3 separate regions of the Homo sapiens genome follow, and all the other regions are linked to region 3. The links are contacts of gene promoters, found by promoter capture Hi-C in human tissues and cell types (Jung and others, 2019). All regions are on one chromosome and are shown on one strand. Each heading gives the region's core, a stretch centred on a gene start or on the middle of the fragment in contact. The rest is flanking DNA. Distances are from core to core; before and after follow the strand shown.

Region 1 (3,045 bases), core at 239-2,738, 130 kb after region 3:
TAAATATAAAGAAAATAAATATAACCCATAATTCCATCACTACAGATAATCATTGGTAAACTTGTTGGTGTGTTTCTTTTCTACCCATGTATATCACATAAGTAGGACCATACTGTGTATAGTGTTTTGCATCCATTCTTTTACCTAACTTTATATTGTAAACATTTCCACATCATTAAACATTTCTCCAAGAACAATTTTTAATGGCTGTATTTCATGGTATGAATATTACATAAACATTCCCCTATTGTTCGACCTTTAAAGTATCTAACTTTTCTATGCAATACACATTGTGGTGCTGAACAACTTTTTGCATACATATTTTTCTGGCAGCTCTTTTTAGAAAAACAACTTCCAGAAAGTTGATTACTGGGTCAAATAATAAGAACCTTTTTGAAAATTTTGATTCTATATTACCAGATGGCTTTCAGAAAGATTATATCAGTGTTCAAGGCCACCAGTAATGTGTTTGTGCACATGTACGTGTGTGTGTGTCTCCCATCTCACTAACTATACCCTTGCCAACCTGCATTAGCGTTTATTTTTTGGTTTTTTGTTTTTTAGTCTTTGCTATTTTGATTAGGTAAACCTGGTTATCTCTGTTCTCTTTTTAGTTTTATGGATTCTGTGTGAGGTGAAGAGGCCAAGTTTTTTTTAAGTTTGTTCAGGGAACAGTAGCCAGGGATCAATGGAAGTGGCACCAGATGCAGGTGGAGAAAAGGGTTCAGGGTCCAGAATCCAGCGTGGGGAGAGAAGAGGGAGGCAGAGTTTGGGAAGGATCTCTGCTGTGGGAGTGGTAAGAACTGGGAGGAGCCAGACAAACAGCATTAGAACAACTGGGTGTGGGGGGCAAAGGCCTCCCACAAGAGGGAAAATAGGGAAGAGATTAATTCCTGCTAATGCATTTAATTATATTCAGTGAAGTCTTAGGGACTTCCCTCCACAAGTTCCCTTTAGGTCGGATTATCTACCCCTTGGCAGTGGGGATGCTTGTTGGATAGACCCCAGAACGGCTGCAAGTGAATCAACCTGTGAGTGTCAATAGAGAACCAAGGCCAAGGCTAAAGCAATGGTAATACATGAATACTGAGTACTAACTACAGGCCAGGCACAGTTCTAAGCAGTTAACTTATATTAACTCATTTATCTTAACCACCATATAAAGCAGGTACTCTTACACTCATTTTACAGACGAAATAGAAGCACAGAGAAGTTAGGTAACTTGCCCAGTATCAGTCAGGAAGTAGGTGAAATCTGGATTTGAACCCAGACATTCTGGCTAGAGTTAAAGCTCTTAACCACCAAATACAGAAATGTGGGAAGGGGAGCCAGAATTGCAGGGCACAGCCTCCTACCTACGCCGGCCGGAAGAAAACAGACGACCAAGTGAGATTGCAGGGGCAGGACTTCTGCTTAAAATGAATCCTGGGACAATGATAACAGCTACCTTTCACTGGGCCCTCACTTCGTGCCAGGCACTGTGTAAAGGGACTTTACGTTTAATCTTCACAGTAACCCCTTTGAGTGAGGTACTGTCATTACCCCATCTTACTGATGAGGAAGCTGACGCACGGAACTGGCCCAAGACCCAGGGTCGGCTCAGGCCAGCCCTACCGCGGTGTGGTGGCTGCCCACGTGGCGCCCAGGAAGAGAAAAAAATGGCGAGGCGGGGTCGGCAGGCGGAGGCGGGGCCAGGCGGGGGCGGGGCCAAGGGCCGCAGAGCCTGGCGCGGAGCCGGCGAGATTTTGGTGGGGTCTCACCTGTTGCGTGACTCCCCCACAGTCCGGCCGCGGGAGTCCGACCCTGAATGCCCAGGGAGTGTTGAGAGAAATCTGGACGAGTTTCGGGTCCCGCTCCCTTGGGAGCACGTGGCCTACCAGCCTCTCGATTGCAGGGTTGGGTGGTCGCGACACCGGGGTCGCCTTGAGGCCAGTCCGGCTGCCGAGGTCTGCGGGAGTCCACCTCCGGCCAGCTGGCAATTTTGAAAGACTGCCTTACTTTCCCCATCTCAGTGCCAGGGCAGGGGCCCTTGGAGTGACTTGGCTGGGGTCTGTGGCCCGATCCCCCTGCCGTCCCTCAGGACCCGGGCTTTCTGCTGTACAGACTTCTCGTGGGCAGCCTCCCCTCGGAACTCGGGCATCATGGCCTCAGGTGAGTGTGTGTACGTGTGTTGGAGGGAGGGTCTCTGGGACAGAGAAGTGCTGTGGCCAGAGTGACAAGAGGGTGGGAGTCACAGCACAGCAGCAGGACCTAGGGAAGGCGGTCAGCTCCTCCCAGGAGGGCCTGGGGAGCAGAGCCAGAGTGTGCAGAGACAGAGGAAAAATCCAAAGAGGCTAGGGTCTCTGTCCCAGACCCCCAGACAAGGGGGTCTCCTGGCCTTCCTGCCTTCCTGGGAGGTAGCTATTTGGCGACGGTGGAATTTTCCCGGGACAGGCCCCTCCCTCCTGGGCTGGGATTCTCGGTTCTTCCCCCTCCTCCCAGAGCTGGGCTACCCCGGGAGCTGAGGGTCAGATGTGGAAGGAAAGTGGGTGCTGGGTTTTCACGGAGTATGCCTGCCCTGCCCCGGGAGGACTGTGTTTGAGCTTGGACTCGCTCGCTGCTGAATTCCTGTTTGTTATTCTTTTTTCTTCCAGGCTAGCTGGAAGGACCAGCTAGCCTGGACTTTGGCTTCTTTGCCCGGGAGCCCTGGCATGATGGGGTGAGGGCTCTTGGTGGGTTAGTGGAGAGCTGGGGGCTGGCCCTTCCCCATCTTCTTTTCTACCCACCCCCTCCCCGCCCCCCGCCAGGCCCAGCCACCATCAGTCACGTCACTCCTGGGACTGAGGAGGCAGGGGAGGGATAAGGGGCAGAGATGGAGGCCCCACTCCCCGAGGTTGCCTAGACAACATGAGAAATCGTGGCCAGGGCCTCTTCCGCCTGCGGAGCCGCTGCTTCCTGCATCAGTCACTCCCGCTGGGGGCGGGGCGGAGGAAGGGGTTGGATGTGGCAGAGCCAGGCCCCAGCCGGTGCCGCTCAGACTCCCCCGCTGTCGCCGCCGTGGTCCCA
Region 2 (2,907 bases), core at 188-2,687, 180 kb before region 3:
GGCTCTCATTCTCCTGCTGCCTGTCACTTATTCTCTGGGCCTTTTAAGGGAAGAAACTGGTTTTCTGCCTCCATCACCCCAGCTTAATATATTTACACTAACTTTTGCTCCCTTCATCTTCAACGGGACAAACTTGGCCAGCTCTCTGCCCTTGACATTCAAATAGTTTCTGGAAACCTGGCCTCTCCCATGAGGATAAGAGGCAGACAGAGTCTGCTGCACAACCCTATGGAGGTAGAACGCAGCCTTCACCTCTCACTTGGAAATATTTGATCATTTATTTACATCTTAGTTTGGCCTCTTCCAAGGCACCCTGGATCATCTCAGCAATCCTTTCAACTACCCTGATAGGTAGATGTTATTAATCACCATTTTACAGAGTGAAAATGGAAACTGAGCAGTCCAGTGACTTGTCCAAGGTCACAGGGCTGTTAGAGGCGGCACTAGGAATTGAGCCTAGAGCTTTGCCTCCAAGTCTAGTATATCTTTTCCCCTGCCTCTTCCTGCCCTAGGAGTCCACGTGTTTCTTGATTGTGGTCTTTTCATCCTCTTAAGACTTTCAGGTGAGCGCCACGAAGTGGTTAGCTACAGAGGCCTCAGCCAGGGCATTCAGGGATGGGCGGCAGGAAGCTCGGGGTTGGAATTCCTCACTTGGGAACGCCTCTTTGCTGAGAGGCACACAGAGACCATCGTGAAGGGGAAATTGAATGCTTCTCCCAGGAGAGCTCCACTTCCGTGGAGCTCAGACTCTGAGGGGTCAGGATCTCCTATGGGAGCAGTGGGGGATTGGAGGAGGTCCTGACCCCGTGGTACTGCCCAGCAGGAGGCCGAGTGTCACTGTGCTGCCCCACTCTTAGCCTCCCCATTGCCATAGCATTTTATTTCCCTGTTCCTTCAGCAGACAGTCACTATCTCTTACCCCTCAGTCCCTTCCTGACTGGCCATTAGTATATCAGGTCTTCCCAGTCCCTATGACAATTTTTTAAAAGGTAAAAATATAAACAGATCATTTTTAGTCACTGTAAAGTGCCACCAACACCATCACTGACTTCTCAGCTAAAACACAAAAACTTAGCAGGGACATTTGAGCAGCAAGTTAGACTCCATCAAGGACAGGGGATGGGGGCTCTCACGAATGATCTCCAGCCTAATCACCAATCCTATAGAGTCTTTAGCTCTGCAGAAAACCTGAGGCGCCGTTCAGGAAGGTGGCGATGTCTTCCCCAACTCCCACCACCCGGCCTCCCCACCCTCCCCACCTGCCATGGGTCACCTTCTATAGGGGGCAGGAGCTGGGGAGTGGGGCTGCCAGCCCCCTGTCCAGGTGAAGCCTGGGGTGGTTCAGCATCCGCTGGGCTGGCTTCTTTCACCTTCAGCTTGGATCCTGCGGCCACCTCCGGAGCTGTGGCTGCCTCCATGCTGGGCCTTCCCAGAGGCTGAGCTCCAGCTCTAGATTTTCACTGCTGGTGATGAGGGAGGGGCTGAGCACCTGCTCCCAGGCTGGCCTCCCGGGTCCCAGCCACAGGGTTACGTAACTGGGCTGGCCCTCCCCACTCAGCTACGCCCAGCAGAAAGGCTGAAGTAGGGGTTGGGGGAGAGAGGAGGATCAGACAGCAGCCCAGAATAGCCCCAGGAGGACTGAGGTGTCCCTGTTATCTCGGGAGAGAGATGACACCCCCCACAGCACCAGGGAGGGAGAGCTTGAACACACCATCCAAAAGGGACCTCTAATTTCTGTAGGGAGGGTTGAGTGACATCTCTGCTCCTGACCTCCAGTTCATCCCGTGGGGCATTCAGGTCCCAAAGAAGGGGCCCAGGATTAGCTGACTCACAGCAACGCCTGAACTGCTCTTTCTCCCTCTGCTCCCACATTCAATGAATTGTAAAGTCTTATCAACTCGACCTTTACAGGGCCTGTCCCATCCTCCCCCGCTCCCCGGGGGCAGCGGGCACAGCGCAGTGGTAGGTGGAGACTGCACTCGCACTGGCTGCCCAGGTGCCACTTGGGGCTCTGTCACCAACTAGCTGTGTGACTCACAACACCTCACAGTCTCTCTTCAGTCTGTTTCCTCATCTGTAAAATGGAGATAATTATAACCATAGGGTCGTTGTGAGGATTAAAGAGGTAATCTCTGTAAAGTGCTTAGCAGAGTGTAGCCGACTAAGTGCTTGATAAATGTAAGCTATTTTTAGGTCAGGCCAGCACTTCCCCCTTTGAGAGCTGTCAATGGCTGCCTTGCCTATTAGATGAAGTACAAATAAAGGGAGAGGCAGCAGTGGTGGAGGGAGGCGAGCTCAGAGACCTGCGTGTGACTTCTGGCTGTACCACTCACTCACCAGCTGGGACTCTGGGCAAATGGCCGACTCGGAGTCTCAAGTCCCAGTCTATGAAACAAGGGATGATGCCATGATTGTGTTGAGGATAAAATGATACAATCTATAGGAAAGTGGCCAGCTCACAGCAGGTGCTAGTCACATACTACAGGTCCTACATGATTTCCAGACTTAGCAAACCATCTTTCTATACGTGTTGTACATGCCATGGACACTGCCACCTATCATACTCCTACCTTCTTATCTCCAGAAGCCAGCATCCCTCTGCATTTTAAAATGCTTTAATTTTAGAGCAGTTTGAGAGTCACGGCAAAGCTGAGTGGAAAGTATAGGGTTCCCACAGCCCCCTACTCACCCCTGTATTTTTTTCATGGAAAAAAAATGGGTGCAGTTGAACAAATGGACTGACTTCTTACTCATTTTTGCCTTCAATTTTGGGGTAATTGGTAAGATCCCAGGAGCCTGTGTTATCTTGGGGTGACAGAAGCTCAGCCTCTTTGTAACTGGTATAGGAGCTAAGGCCCAGGACAATCTGTTTATTGGGGCCTTGGATGGCCTATGGGGTTGATTTGG
Region 3 (3,289 bases), core at 314-2,813:
GAGTGCGACCTCAACAGGCAGTGTGGGGTAATAAATCCAGAGACCAAAAAGATCTGTACCCGCCTGTTGACCTGCAAGGTAACCCCCTTCCCACTGCACGGTGAGGGAGGACAGCACAGGGCTTGCCCACTCCTTCCCTGGGCAAAGAGAGGAATGTCGATGTTACTGAAGGTCCAGCTTAAGGGAGGGCAGTTAGGCCCACCCAAGGGAAGGGGAGATGGGTATGCCCCTCCTGGGCAGAAGGTGGGAACAGTGGGAAGGAGGGAGTTTCCAGATTCCCCCATCCCAAAGGAGGGTTTTGGCCCCATGGGGGAATGAAACAAAGACACATGAACACAGCTGCAAATATGCCCACCTCTCTCCCTGCCCCCCAACTTGCCCGGGCCAAAGCACCCTGCCGTCCCTCACCCCTTCTCAGTTCATACCTACTCCCCAGCTCTCCACTCTGCTGTATTCTAGATCCACTCAGTACACCAGCGCCGGGAAGTCCAGGGCCGGGCCAAGGACTTTGACGTGCTGGTGGCAGAGCTGAAGGCCAACTCCCGCAAAGGGGAGTCTCCCAAGGAGAAGAGCCCAGGGCGCAAGGAGCAAGTTCTCGAGCGCCCCTCCCAGGAGCTCCCCTCCTCAGTCCAGGTTGTAGCAGCGGTGGCTGCTCCCAGCAGCACCTTCTCTGTTCGTGCCAAGCAGACCTACCCATACTGTGCACTGCCCAGGTACGTCTAGAATCCAACCCCTACCTCACCTGGGGGTACTTGGCCCCTAAGCCATCAGGGGCCCCTGGAAACAGGCTCAGGGAGTGTCCTGGAAGAGGCACTCCCTCAGCCCTGAGTGTGGGGGTATTCCTGGGGCTCCTGACAGTGGTGTGGAAGCAGGAGACTCCCCTGTTTCCAACCAGGCATACCACAGCACCCCAGCCTCTCGGCAGTGTGCCAGATCCAACACTCAGGATATGAACATTTTCCCAGCTGCCTCCAACAGACCGAAACTTGTCACTGGGGAGCTGAAAGGGTCACACTCCTGGGCAAGGCAGCCCTATGTGTATTCACTCACTGGCCCCTTCGCGTGCAGAGGCTATGCCGGACCCCAGGGAGAGCCTGACTTGCTGAAGGAGACACACATGCATCTCTGCCTGTCACACAAGGGGCAGACACGAAACACAGGCTCAGCTCACAGACAGGCTCACAGGAATATGTGATGCAAGAAGGGGGTTGAGCGAGTTGACTGGGCTGACCAGAGCTGGGTACAGTTTTAACTGTGAAGATTTTCTGGAGGAGGCGGATCTGCAGCAGATTATCCCCTGAGGAGGAAGGGGCTGGGAGGTGAAGGGGCTGGGGAGAGAATCCCTTGGGAGCAGTCTCTCTGTCTCTTACTCTGTGAGCTGTGTCGTTCCCTCCTGTCCTTCCCTTCCCTCTGTCCTCTTCTGATTGCCCTGCAGGGTGTCTGCCCTGGTGCCCTGCTCTTTGAGCTCGGCAGGTTCAAGGATGCCCCTACTCTGACCCCACAACAGTCACATTCCCCTGGCATCCCTTTTGGCCCTTCCAGGTCCCGGGCCTCCTCCGAGAGTGAATTGGATGATGAAGGCCCCTGTGGTGGTGATGGGGACCCAGGCCTGTTCCCCTTCCCCATGCCCCGGGGTGGGACCCAGGCCTCCAGCGAAGAGAGTGAGGAGGAGGGGACATCTGACGACCTCCACCCACCCCCTGACTGCCATTATGCAACCCGGCCCCCACGGCCACAGGCGGTAAGGACCTGGAATAGGGGCCTATGGAGGGGGTGGCCCAGCACTCCTGGCCAACAACATGGGGAGGAGGCCAGATCCTGTGTGCAGATGCTGTCTGTGCACCCCAGACCCTGCCAACCATGCACCTTCCTTCTGCCTTTAGTTCTGCACCTTTGGGAGCCGGCTGGTGAGCCCAGGATGCTATGTGTTTAGCCGCCGGCTGGACCGGTTCTGCTCAGCACTCAGCTCCATGCTGGAACGGCACCTCAGCACACACATGTGGAAGTAAGTCTCTCGGACCCAGAATGGAAGTTCTAGAATGGAAATTCCTAGGTTCCAGACATACTTGGGCTTCAGAAGCCCTGATCTTTCCTGTATACCCATAGGTGTGCCTTGGCTATTTGCCAGCAGGACCCCAGATAGGGAGTAGCATGAAAAGGAGGTGGGAAAACTTGGCAGCCTAGAGTTTGGCTAAGGCAGGGCATGGAAGGGTGGTCTGGGGGTGAATCTAGACTTTCATCCATCACTTCCAGTACCTTTTGGGTAACTAGGGATAGGGGATGCCCAAACCAAGATTTAAAATGAAGTTCCTAGTGGGCTGCCTCCTAGTTAGTAGGTACTAGCTAATTCCTCTCCACAGGCACCCCTGTGTCTTCTTCCTAACCCTCAGTTCCAGCATCTCCCAGCAGATGGCAGCAACTCTGGGGCTCTGCTGACCATTTCTAGGTGGGGCAGAGAGACTGGAGTGTGTCTTGTGTTGGGGGAAGCTGTCTTGTTTCTTGGCAGTCACAGTGGGGCTTTCTTTTTGCTGCAGGAAGATCCCACCGGCAGCTGAACCTCCAGCTCACCTTGTCAACTCCCCGTTATCTGCTCCCCTGAGCCCATCCTCTACAGGCACCTGCCCCCGCCTTCCAGGTCCAACCCTGAGACCTGCCTGCCCAGCCTCCATGCCCCCCACCAAGGACAACCTTGTCCCCAGCTACCCTGCAGGCTCCCCCAGCGTGGCGGCTGCCTGTAGCCAGGCAGAGTGCATGGGCGGGAGCCAGGCTATCACCTCACCACTGCCTGCCAACACGCCATCCCCGTCCTTCAGCAAGCTGCCGCCTTCCAAGGCCAGCAAGTCATCCAAAGGCAAGGACGGGGTGGAGGTGGAGGCCCCTTCTCGAAAGCGGAAGTTATCCCCTGGCCCTACCACTCTTAAACGGACCTGCATCCTGGAGCCCACTGGAAAAGGGAAACCCTCTGGCTGTAGGGGCCTCTCGGCCAAAACTAAAACAGCCCTGAGCATGGGGCTTAATGGGACAATGGGGCCAAGAGTGAAGCGGGCAGGGCCCCTGGACTGTCGTGGCTCCCCTCATCAGCTCCCCACACCAGTCAAGGCTTCTCAGCTGGAGAACCGGGGAGCAGCTGGACACCCAGCCAAGGCCCTGCCAACCAACTGCCTCTCTGAGGAGGAGGTGGCCAAGAAGCGGAAAAACCTGGCCACTTATTGCCGGCCAGTGAAGGCCAAGCACTGTCAGGCTGGTGCCCCTGCTGATGTGGCCTGCTCTGTGCGCCGCAAGAAGCCAG

Evidence for each region. Contacts are between HindIII fragments. The study calls those that stand out against the background at their distance.
Region 1: a contact is called between the fragment with the promoter of GNAT2 here and a fragment that was not itself captured in region 3, in 5 of the 25 tissues and cell types used here (IMR-90 fibroblasts, adrenal gland, bladder and 2 more).
Region 2: the fragment with the promoter of MYBPHL here is called in contact with a fragment that was not itself captured in region 3 in 3 of the 25 tissues and cell types used here (H1 embryonic stem cells, IMR-90 fibroblasts and dorsolateral prefrontal cortex).

Annotation. Positions count from the first base shown.
Region 1 is chr1:109,618,128-109,621,172 of GRCh38, forward strand. GNAT2 (G protein subunit alpha transducin 2) reads right to left here and starts at 1,489. Exons shown (of 9, transcript NM_001377295.2): 1 at 1,356-1,489. AMPD2 (adenosine monophosphate deaminase 2) reads left to right here and starts at 1,710. Exons shown (of 19, transcript NM_001368809.2): 1 at 1,710-2,151; 2 at 2,787-3,045. RefSeq lists enhancers at 877-1,407, 1,388-1,437, 1,408-1,936, 2,458-2,507, 2,467-2,995 and a silencer at 1,628-1,817. The HindIII fragment of the contact is 31,069 bases long and covers 1-3,045 here.
Region 2 is chr1:109,305,574-109,308,480 of GRCh38, forward strand. MYBPHL (myosin binding protein H like) reads right to left here and starts at 1,438. Exons shown (of 9, transcript NM_001010985.3): 1 at 1,274-1,438. The coding sequence starts at 1,418. RefSeq lists enhancers at 956-1,695, 1,696-2,434. The HindIII fragment of the contact is 18,863 bases long and covers 1-2,907 here.
Region 3 is chr1:109,488,388-109,491,676 of GRCh38, forward strand. ATXN7L2 (ataxin 7 like 2) reads left to right here. Exons shown (of 11, transcript NM_001350175.2): 6 at 1-78; 7 at 460-713; 8 at 1,543-1,741; 9 at 1,884-2,005; 10 at 2,535-3,289. Among named protein-coding and RNA genes, the nearest start is that of CYB561D1, 4.1 kb to the right of the region's middle. RefSeq lists a silencer at 2,470-2,519. The HindIII fragment of the contact is 6,277 bases long and covers 1-3,289 here.